Linked DNA regions of Homo sapiens: regions 2 and 3 are each linked to region 1. Evidence: promoter capture Hi-C in human tissues and cell types (Jung and others, 2019). All regions are on one chromosome and are shown on one strand. The core of a region is centred on a gene start or on the middle of the fragment in contact, and the rest is flanking DNA. Distances in the headings are between cores, read along the strand shown. Region 1 holds the start of ELAVL2 (ELAV like RNA binding protein 2). Region 2 overlaps LOC101929563 (a long non-coding RNA gene). Region 3 overlaps LOC101929563 (a long non-coding RNA gene).

The links. The method cuts DNA at HindIII sites, captures the fragments that hold promoters and counts their contacts. A contact is called where the count stands out against the background at its distance.
Region 2: a contact is called between a fragment that was not itself captured here and the fragment with the promoter of ELAVL2 in region 1, in 1 of the 25 tissues and cell types used here (mesendoderm cells).
Region 3: a contact is called between a fragment that was not itself captured here and the fragment with the promoter of ELAVL2 in region 1, in 2 of the 25 tissues and cell types used here (dorsolateral prefrontal cortex and spleen).

What each region holds. Positions count from the first base shown.
Region 1 is chr9:23,824,884-23,827,583 of GRCh38, reverse strand. ELAVL2 (ELAV like RNA binding protein 2) reads left to right here and starts at 1,344. Exons shown (of 7, transcript NM_004432.5): 1 at 1,344-1,778. It overlaps LOC105375992 (a long non-coding RNA gene), which reads right to left and starts at 1,156. Exons shown (of 3, transcript XR_929519.3): 1 at 1,067-1,156. The HindIII fragment of the contact is 12,029 bases long and covers 1-2,700 here.
Region 2 is chr9:23,660,820-23,663,519 of GRCh38, reverse strand. It overlaps LOC101929563 (a long non-coding RNA gene), which reads left to right. Exons shown (of 28, transcript NR_121602.1): 4 at 503-694. Among named protein-coding and RNA genes, the nearest start is that of ELAVL2, 160 kb to the left of the region's middle. The HindIII fragment of the contact is 5,088 bases long and covers 1-2,700 here.
Region 3 is chr9:23,607,006-23,609,705 of GRCh38, reverse strand. The region is part of intron 9 of LOC101929563 (a long non-coding RNA gene); the gene reads left to right. Among named protein-coding and RNA genes, the nearest start is that of ELAVL2, 220 kb to the left of the region's middle. The HindIII fragment of the contact is 7,072 bases long and covers 1-2,700 here.

The DNA of each region.
Region 1 (2,700 bases), core at 95-2,594:
TTAAGACACATTACATGTGTAATGTAATGTGTACATTACATTTACACATTCTGGTAAGAATGGTAAAAACTGTCTAGGAAGTTGGTGCTATCTTTCAAGATTGAAAAGAGAAATGCTGGCTGGAAAAGAACGTAGGTCAAATGAATATTGTGTCTACTTATACATCCAGACGATCCTGAGGACCTCACTTTCACTTAGAGGAAGAAACAATTATCATGCATAAAACTGTATTTTGGTCTCCTGAATGCTGTTAAAATATGGGGTTGTAATAAAGTAGTCTTCCTCTATGAAGCAGAAGCATTGATAGCACTTGGTCTTCTGGTTAAACTTCTTAAATCCTCACAGAAAGAGCCCTGATAAAGGTTCAACTATCTTTGCTGTCAGCAATACATGTGTGGTCCAAGGACTGTACCTGTCTGCAAATGCAGAGGAGTGGCTTGTTCCAGTTTTATATACAGCTGCTCTTTTTGAGAATCATTAGACACCTCGAAGTGAAGGACCTTAGCTCTACTCAATACCTCTTTTTCTGGATAGGATATTTATCCTACACTTTTCTATTCTAACATGAAGTGAAAGCCAATTCAAACCGTGCAGCTTTATTTGAGAGCATTTCTGACTTCATCTTTATCTTAAAAGGATGCTTTAAAAAGGGGTTCATGGGGACACATAAATCTGAAATATGCGTATATTAAAATAAAGACATACAATTACCTAACATCTAATACAAAATACAGTACTGAACACAAATCGAAAAAAGGCATGCGGGCAAATAATGGATGTACATTCATCCCTTTCACTCAGATCAAAGAGAGGGAGCTCTCAATGACTCATACATACCGGACAGAGTTAAATGTTATAAAGAAATATGCCACAGATGCAGCAGTGATGGCAAAGGAAATGAATCTTTCTGAAGCAGAAAGATTTAAGAGGAAAGGAGATCGTGCCATATCGCAAACTCTGATAGTACAGTTCCAACCCTCCCACGTTGCTCTCTCCACATTTCTTTTTGCTTCTTGCATTTCCCTTCGCCGCCAGTGTTAAGAGTGTACCTCCCCGCACAACTTACCTTGAAACGGGACTCCATTGAGCTCTCGAGAGTGACACAAGCCCATAGCCAATCGTCTCACGCGGCCCCGCCTGGGCGGCCTCAATGGAAGCGTGTGGACCAATCAGGATCCTGGGGCGATGAGCAAGTTACGTTGTGGCGCGATTCGGCGTATACTTCCGCGCGTGCTGCCCGGGATAGGAGCCTGGCAGAGCAGCTGCACACACGGCAGTGCGGAGGCAGAGAAGGGGTTGGTGATACGGTGCTATAAATCTGTGGTCCAGTCCACCTCCCTTTTAAGACGTCCTCCCCCCTATTTCTGTTCTTAGTTAGAGATGCAGCAGCTTACTCCTGTAGCGACCTACTAAAAAGCAACAAGGAGAAAGACATCGTCTTTTTGAAAAAACGTTCTTTCGTCTCTTTTCTTTGTTCCTTGGTTTGTTTTTCTTGCCCCTTTTTGTTTAGTTGAACGGCAATAGGAGGGTAGTCTCTCCGTCTTTTTAAACTCTTTTTTAAGTTTCCCCTCCCCTTTCATATTTTTTTTCGCCATTTCTTTTAGCATTGGACTTTGGGGTCGAAAGCGTTTCTTTTTATTTGCTTCTTTTAAGCCGAGCACAGTTTAGGTTTCGTGCTGTCTTAAGAGAACTATCCAGCAGCTTCTTGCTCATCCTTATTGGGAGAACTGCACCGTTACTTTAAAAACACACATACACAAAAACCTTAAGGGAGAAAGGTAAGTTTCGGTTTGGTTTCTTTAATCATTAGTTGCAGCGATGCGCTGGCAAACCCAGAAAACCTGTAAGTGAGCGGAATACAGAATATGAAGTTAATTGCACATGTTTGTCTCATTTCAAAGCTACTGTTCTGCTTTTTTAATTTTAAAGAGCTAGACTAAAAGACGGTGGACGCATGCTTAGCGTACTGAATATTCGTAAATGTCCATGGCAGAAACTTAAGTGGTAAATGTGGCCAGGGGGGAGTAGGGGTACAATGGGAGGTTAGATGTGGAGTGAGCTTCAAGATTGAGATCGGAAGTTCATTTCGTGGGGAGAGAGTGATAACTTGGGTGTTGGGGATGCATGCCTCTACTTTGGCTCAGCAACGGAAGGACGGGAGAGGCTTTACAATCATTAAGGGGAATCAGAAGCCTGGACTGGCAGATTAGACCAGCGAAAACCACAGGCTTAATTGCATTAACCAGATAGCATGTGCTGGGGAGATGGGATTGCCAGATGGAATTTAGATGCTGCACCAGGCAGCGAGTTGTAGTTGACTGAAAAAAGTACATGCCGCCTGAGGGCTGGGGCTGGGGCTGGGCTGAGGCTAGGGTTGTTAGAAGCTGTCAGAACTCATCATTGTATGCGGGCTCTGATTCACGGACTCCAATTATCATAATTCAGTTTTAAAAGAAGATAGCCAATTTGGGGCTGAATTCTTAAGCCTGTACCGGATATGAGATTCCCTTTGTTCAGAAAAGCGTAAATAAGATCCTTGGAGCTGTGTCTATGAAGTGCCGGCTGCTTGGGAGCCTCGCTGTGCTGGGCGCTGGGAAGTGGATTCCAAGCCCTGTCCTTGGTCCTACGCGGCTGACTTCGCCTTCGGGGAGAGGGGGAACCCCTCTGCAGCCGCGAGGCTTCGCAGCCACCCCAGGAGCC
Region 2 (2,700 bases), core at 5-2,504, 160 kb after region 1:
AGTTGGGCAGGTATAAAACAACTGCTTTGTTTTTCCAAAACTTGGCCCATTACAGCATGAAATTCACATTGGCGAAGTGAAAAGGATTAAGCCTTTTTCAGTAGAGCAGGTATGAGGGGACTTTTTACTTGGTAAGAAAAACTGTTGTACAGGAAATGAACATAGTTCACACTCCAGTCACATTTTATGCAGTCAGGAACTGGGTGAGCAGAGTATCATCCCAGGCATATACAGTCTGAAGATCTTTTAAGGTTCTACATAGTTTCCTGTGATACAGCAGATATAGTCAAGAAAGATTTCCCAGGACCCAGTTCCCTGGCTTGCTGGCAGGTTTCAGATAACTGTGATTGGCCTCATTTGGGGACTTTGAGGTATATAGAGACAAATTCACGTAACTAGTGCTGACAGGTTATTTTATCTTCAATTAGGTGGTGGCATGCACCAAGATCAGATTGTTCTACCTGAGTTAAAGATGTTCCTCCTGTTGCCTTTTGTGAAGCAGGAGAGAATCAGAGCACCAGTGGAACAACAGCAGTGAGAAGCTCATCAGCTTCACGAACTGACCACAGACCAATCAGTGAATTCCTGTCCTGCTTTCACTTTGCTTTCCGTGCTATGTGGAAATAAGAGCTCTCCTCATGGGTCCAGTGTGAGGAACAGATAGCAAGCACTGATTGGGTGGAACCAGCCAAAGGTAGCTATGAATAATAGTACAAAAATAATTTTTATTAGGGAAAGGTGAAGCCGATTAGCCCTCAAATCCTCCATTTCTAAGCATAGACTCTTGTTAAAGGTTGTACCCATTAATGTTTATCCCCACCACTGATCCACCATTGTTACCCAGGGTTATTCTGATTTAGGTGCCGCAGAGGAACTGGAATGGATAAGTCAGTTCATTGAGCAAACCCATGAGACTTATCATAGTACCCAGAGCTTCAAGCTGCATGTAGCCTGGTGTTGGTGGTGGGGAAAAGTCCCTGCTGTGCGTCACATGAGGTGGTGACTTAACTGTTAACCTGAATCACCAGTGTGAATACCCAGTTAAGTAGTAAGGCACAGCCCCTGTGAGAGTAAGTCCTCATTTCAGTGATGAGTCCAGAGAGTAAGAATAGCATAAAGATGGCAGAGGACTTCACAGTGGTATAGGGGAGCAAGCATCACTTTACTGGGGGAGGGTACAGGGGGGTCTTTATCATCACCAGCATCATCTTGTTCATGCAAAGGTCATTATCTGATAAAGTGGATGGAAGTTCCAAAGAAGAGGACAGGGACTGTAAACTCTGGGCTATTCTTTATTCTGCAACATTGATTAAAAGTTGCTGTGACAGGCTCTGCCCTAGGGCTCCAGGATACAGTGAATAACACAGATGTGGTGCCTACCCTCATGAAGGTTACCTTCCATTCAGGGAAGACAGGCATGAGTAAGTAATAAAAATAATTATAGATTTGATAAGGGTTTTGAAGGGAACAAAAATAAGAGGCTGAGGTAGAGAATCATTGGTGAAGGGTGAGAGGAAGCCATTTTTCAAAGAATATTAGGGCAGGAGATATTGAAATTGAGACTTGAATGAGAAGGTAACAACATAGTAATAAACATTTGTGAAAAAGGAAACATACAAAGGCCCTAATGTGTTTGAAGAAGTTTGAGAAAAATGATGTGACAGTTCATGGTTGTGTTAGGGTTACACAGAGAAATAGAACCAATAGGAGATACATATCTATCTAGATATATACCATATATATAAAACATTTTTGTGTTTTTATGTATAAAGGACTTTATTATAAGGAATTGGTTCACACGATTATGGAGGTGGGCAAATCTCAAGATCTGCAAGGTGAGTCTGCAAGCTCCAGACCCCGGACAGCCAATGGTGTATTAATAATATGAGTCCAAAGGCTTGAGAAGCATGAGAGCTTGAGACCCAGAAGGAGCCAATGTTCATGTCTGAAGGGAGGAAAAAGTCAATGTCGTAGTTCAAAGGCAGTCAGGCAGGCGGAGTCAGGCAGAAGGAGTTTTCTCCTGTTGACTAGAGGGCCAACCTTTGTGTTCTATTCAGGGCTTCAACTGATGGGCTCATCCACATTAGGGAGTGTGTATTGGTTAGTTTTATGTGTCAGTTGGGCTAATGTAAGAGATGCCCAGATACCTAGTTAAACATTATTTCTGGGTGTATCTGTGAGGCTGTTTCTGGAAGAGATTGTCATTGTAATTGGACTGAGAGCAAATTACCCTCCCCATTGTAGGGTGGGTATCATCCAACCCACTGATGGCCTGACTGGAACAAAATGGCACAAGAACATTAATCTGACTGCTTGAGTGGAGACATTAGTCTTCTTTCCTTGTACTGGGACTTACAGCATTAGCACCCCTGGGTTTCAGGCCTTCAGATTGTCATTTGCACCACTTGTGGGACTTGTTAGCCTCTGTAATCATGTGAGCCCATTCCTTATCTCATTACAGACATACACATATTTTATATGTATAATCTCCATCTTACTGGTTCTCTTTCTCTGGAAAGCCCTGACTAACACAGAGGGCAATCTGCTTTACTCAGTCTGCTGATTCAAATGTTAGTCTCATCCAGAAACACCCTCATAGACACATTCAGAATAATGTTTTACCAAATATCTGGGCATCTCTTAAGGCAGTCAAGTTGACACATACAGTGAACCATCACATAGAGTCAAAGACAAGGAGAG
Region 3 (2,700 bases), core at 26-2,525, 220 kb after region 1:
TTCATTATAAAGTTTTCTCATTCCCTGCCTGACCTTGACTCTGGCAAATGCAAGTGACAGTGGCTGACTCCTTGTTACATCAAGTTCTAATTAAACAGCTTTTGTTCTCATTTTGGGGGTATCTTTATTGAGACGCCCCATCATTTAATTTTCACAACAACCCTGTGAATAAAATATGAGGGTTATCTCCATTGTTGAGGTGAAGCAGAGAAGGGATATGCTATCTGCACAAGGTCACACCACTGCTAGGTGATGGGTTAGAATTTGAATCTAGGTTTGTTGGCCTCCTAAGCCCCTGTCTTTAAACCGGGACTGTATCACTGTGAGGACTTAGGAGCCAGGCATTGATAATCTCCTGGAGGATTGGTAAGAGTTGAGATTGGTAGATCATGTGTGTGTGTGTGTTTTTAAAAAATATGTCTACATTAGGTCCTCAGAACAGAGATGGCTAGCTGATCACCGGCAACGTGGCATTCCCTTTCCAGGAGGTTGAATGCCATTTTGCCGGGTTTACATTTCCCAAGGCTCTTGAATCTAGGTGAGGCCTTTGGCTATTTCTGGCTTATTTAATGTGAACCTAAATTATTATGTGTTACTTTGGAAGAGGTGGTTAAATTTTTGGTAGGCCATGCCTACACTCATATTATTGCATGAAAATAGTGGTATGTTATGTTGCAGTTGCAAACAGTAAAAGTTGGAAGGAACCTGGATCCCCTAGTTTGTGTTTAGGAGAACAGCCAGACCAGGAATATCCACATTACATTTGGCATAGATGAGAAATAATTGTTGATTATATTAAGTCATTGAGGTTTTGGGGTTCTTTCCTCACTTAGCCTACCCTGATTAATATACTTCTCTCTAAGGACACTTCTACAGGGAAGAATAGGCCCCCCAGATCGTTTTCTAGTAGCAATTATATTTCACCTGGATAACTAATATGTAGATGTTGATATTTTCTTGAAAGTGTTCATAGAATTTTTAGTGTGTACAGCTAGAAATGCAGGCACAGTAGACTGTGGTACTAGGAGTTGACATGGAATGCAATTGATTGTAGCCACACCGGGAACAGGACAGACAAGGTAAATAAATTATGAATTCCAGGGGAAAGGAGTTTGCAATAGCTGCTATTTCATTTCCCTCTTAACCCCCTGTGACTGTAAACACGCTTATAGATATATTTTATTAATCATTGTTTTGATGTATCTGGAGTTTGCAAGTGGCTATTGTAGCTAGGGGATTTCTGGACACCCCTCTAGCTGATCAGATGAGGGACACAAATGCTGCAGTGACAAGCTAGTCTGTGTATGAAAAGAGAAATGGAAAAGCTCTCCCTCACCAGCACTTGTAACTAGCTATTTGTTTAAAATAACAGCTTTAGGCCTCTTTCCAACTGTGCTGTCCTCACTTCTGTCTACAGATGATGGACTTTAGACTGAAAATTACATGAGAGATACTTAACAAGTGGATATCTTTCAAGGGACATCATCAGAATAAAACACTTCAAAATTCACTTTATGCTGCTTGAAGAAAGATAGCATTGATATGATATTTTGAAAGAGCGATAACTACCAGAACTTAAAAAGACCTGTTCATTTTATAAAGGAGGCAAAGAAGTGTGTCATTAATGGTACAGTACGCTAAATCTTGAGAGGAGAGGATAGGCTTTGCATAACTCCAGACTTATCCACAATAAACTGTGTGTGTACTGGTGGTTTATTTCTATCTACACTTCATTGGGTGGTGGTAACTACTAGTCTCAAACCTTGATTCTTTCCCAGGACAGCTCACAGTGAGGTCTGACCCAATCTAGCATCACCCTAGGTCTCAGAAAACCTGGTGAGATCTCTTCTCATTCTGAAGTCCGTCTTGGTAATCTTGCCATATTACCTTTTACTATAGAAATATAATTTTAATTTTTGTCTGATTGTTCCTCTGCCTTGTTTACCACTCATCTGTTTTGTTCACTGCTGCATCTCCAGTGCCCAGCACACTTCCTGGCACATAGAGTACATTAATTCACTGTGGAATATACACAGTTGTAAGCAAGGTGACTAGAGATGGCAGGAATTGGAGAAGTCTTAACATCTAAATATAAGATGGGGCTTGGGACAAAATGTGAAGGTTAGATAAGTTTGAATATGCAGAGATAAAAGTGTTCCACATGGAGAATGGAACACTAAGGAGCTAAATCTAGGAGTCAGGAATGGGTTCAGTATGTTTAAGGGACAGCAAGTAGACAGCTGGGGAGACTGTGGAGGAACGGAAAGTGTGTTTCATGGCTTTAGAATGTCAAGCATTAATAGAAGTATGCAAAATTCTTCATTGAAAATTATAGGATAGCCTTGCGTTAACTCAAAAATTGTAAAATACCCTGTATGGAATAACTTTACAAGTTAAAACCACACACTTCAACTTCTGTTATCCTGTGAGGTTCATCTGCATGAAGCTCTCTTTAATACTCTACATGTAAAACCAGAATATAAGAGCATTTTTGGTTTCATGGCTTGCTGTGGACTGAATGTTTGTACCTTTCAAAATTAGTATGTTGAAGCCTAAGTTCTCAATGTGTTCAGCGGTGTGGCCTTTGGGAGGTAATTAGGCCATGAGGTCAGAGGCCTCATGAATGGGATTAATACCTTTACAAAAAGATAAAGAGGCCAGAGCTCATGTACTTTCTGTCTCTCTCTCTCTCTCTCTCTC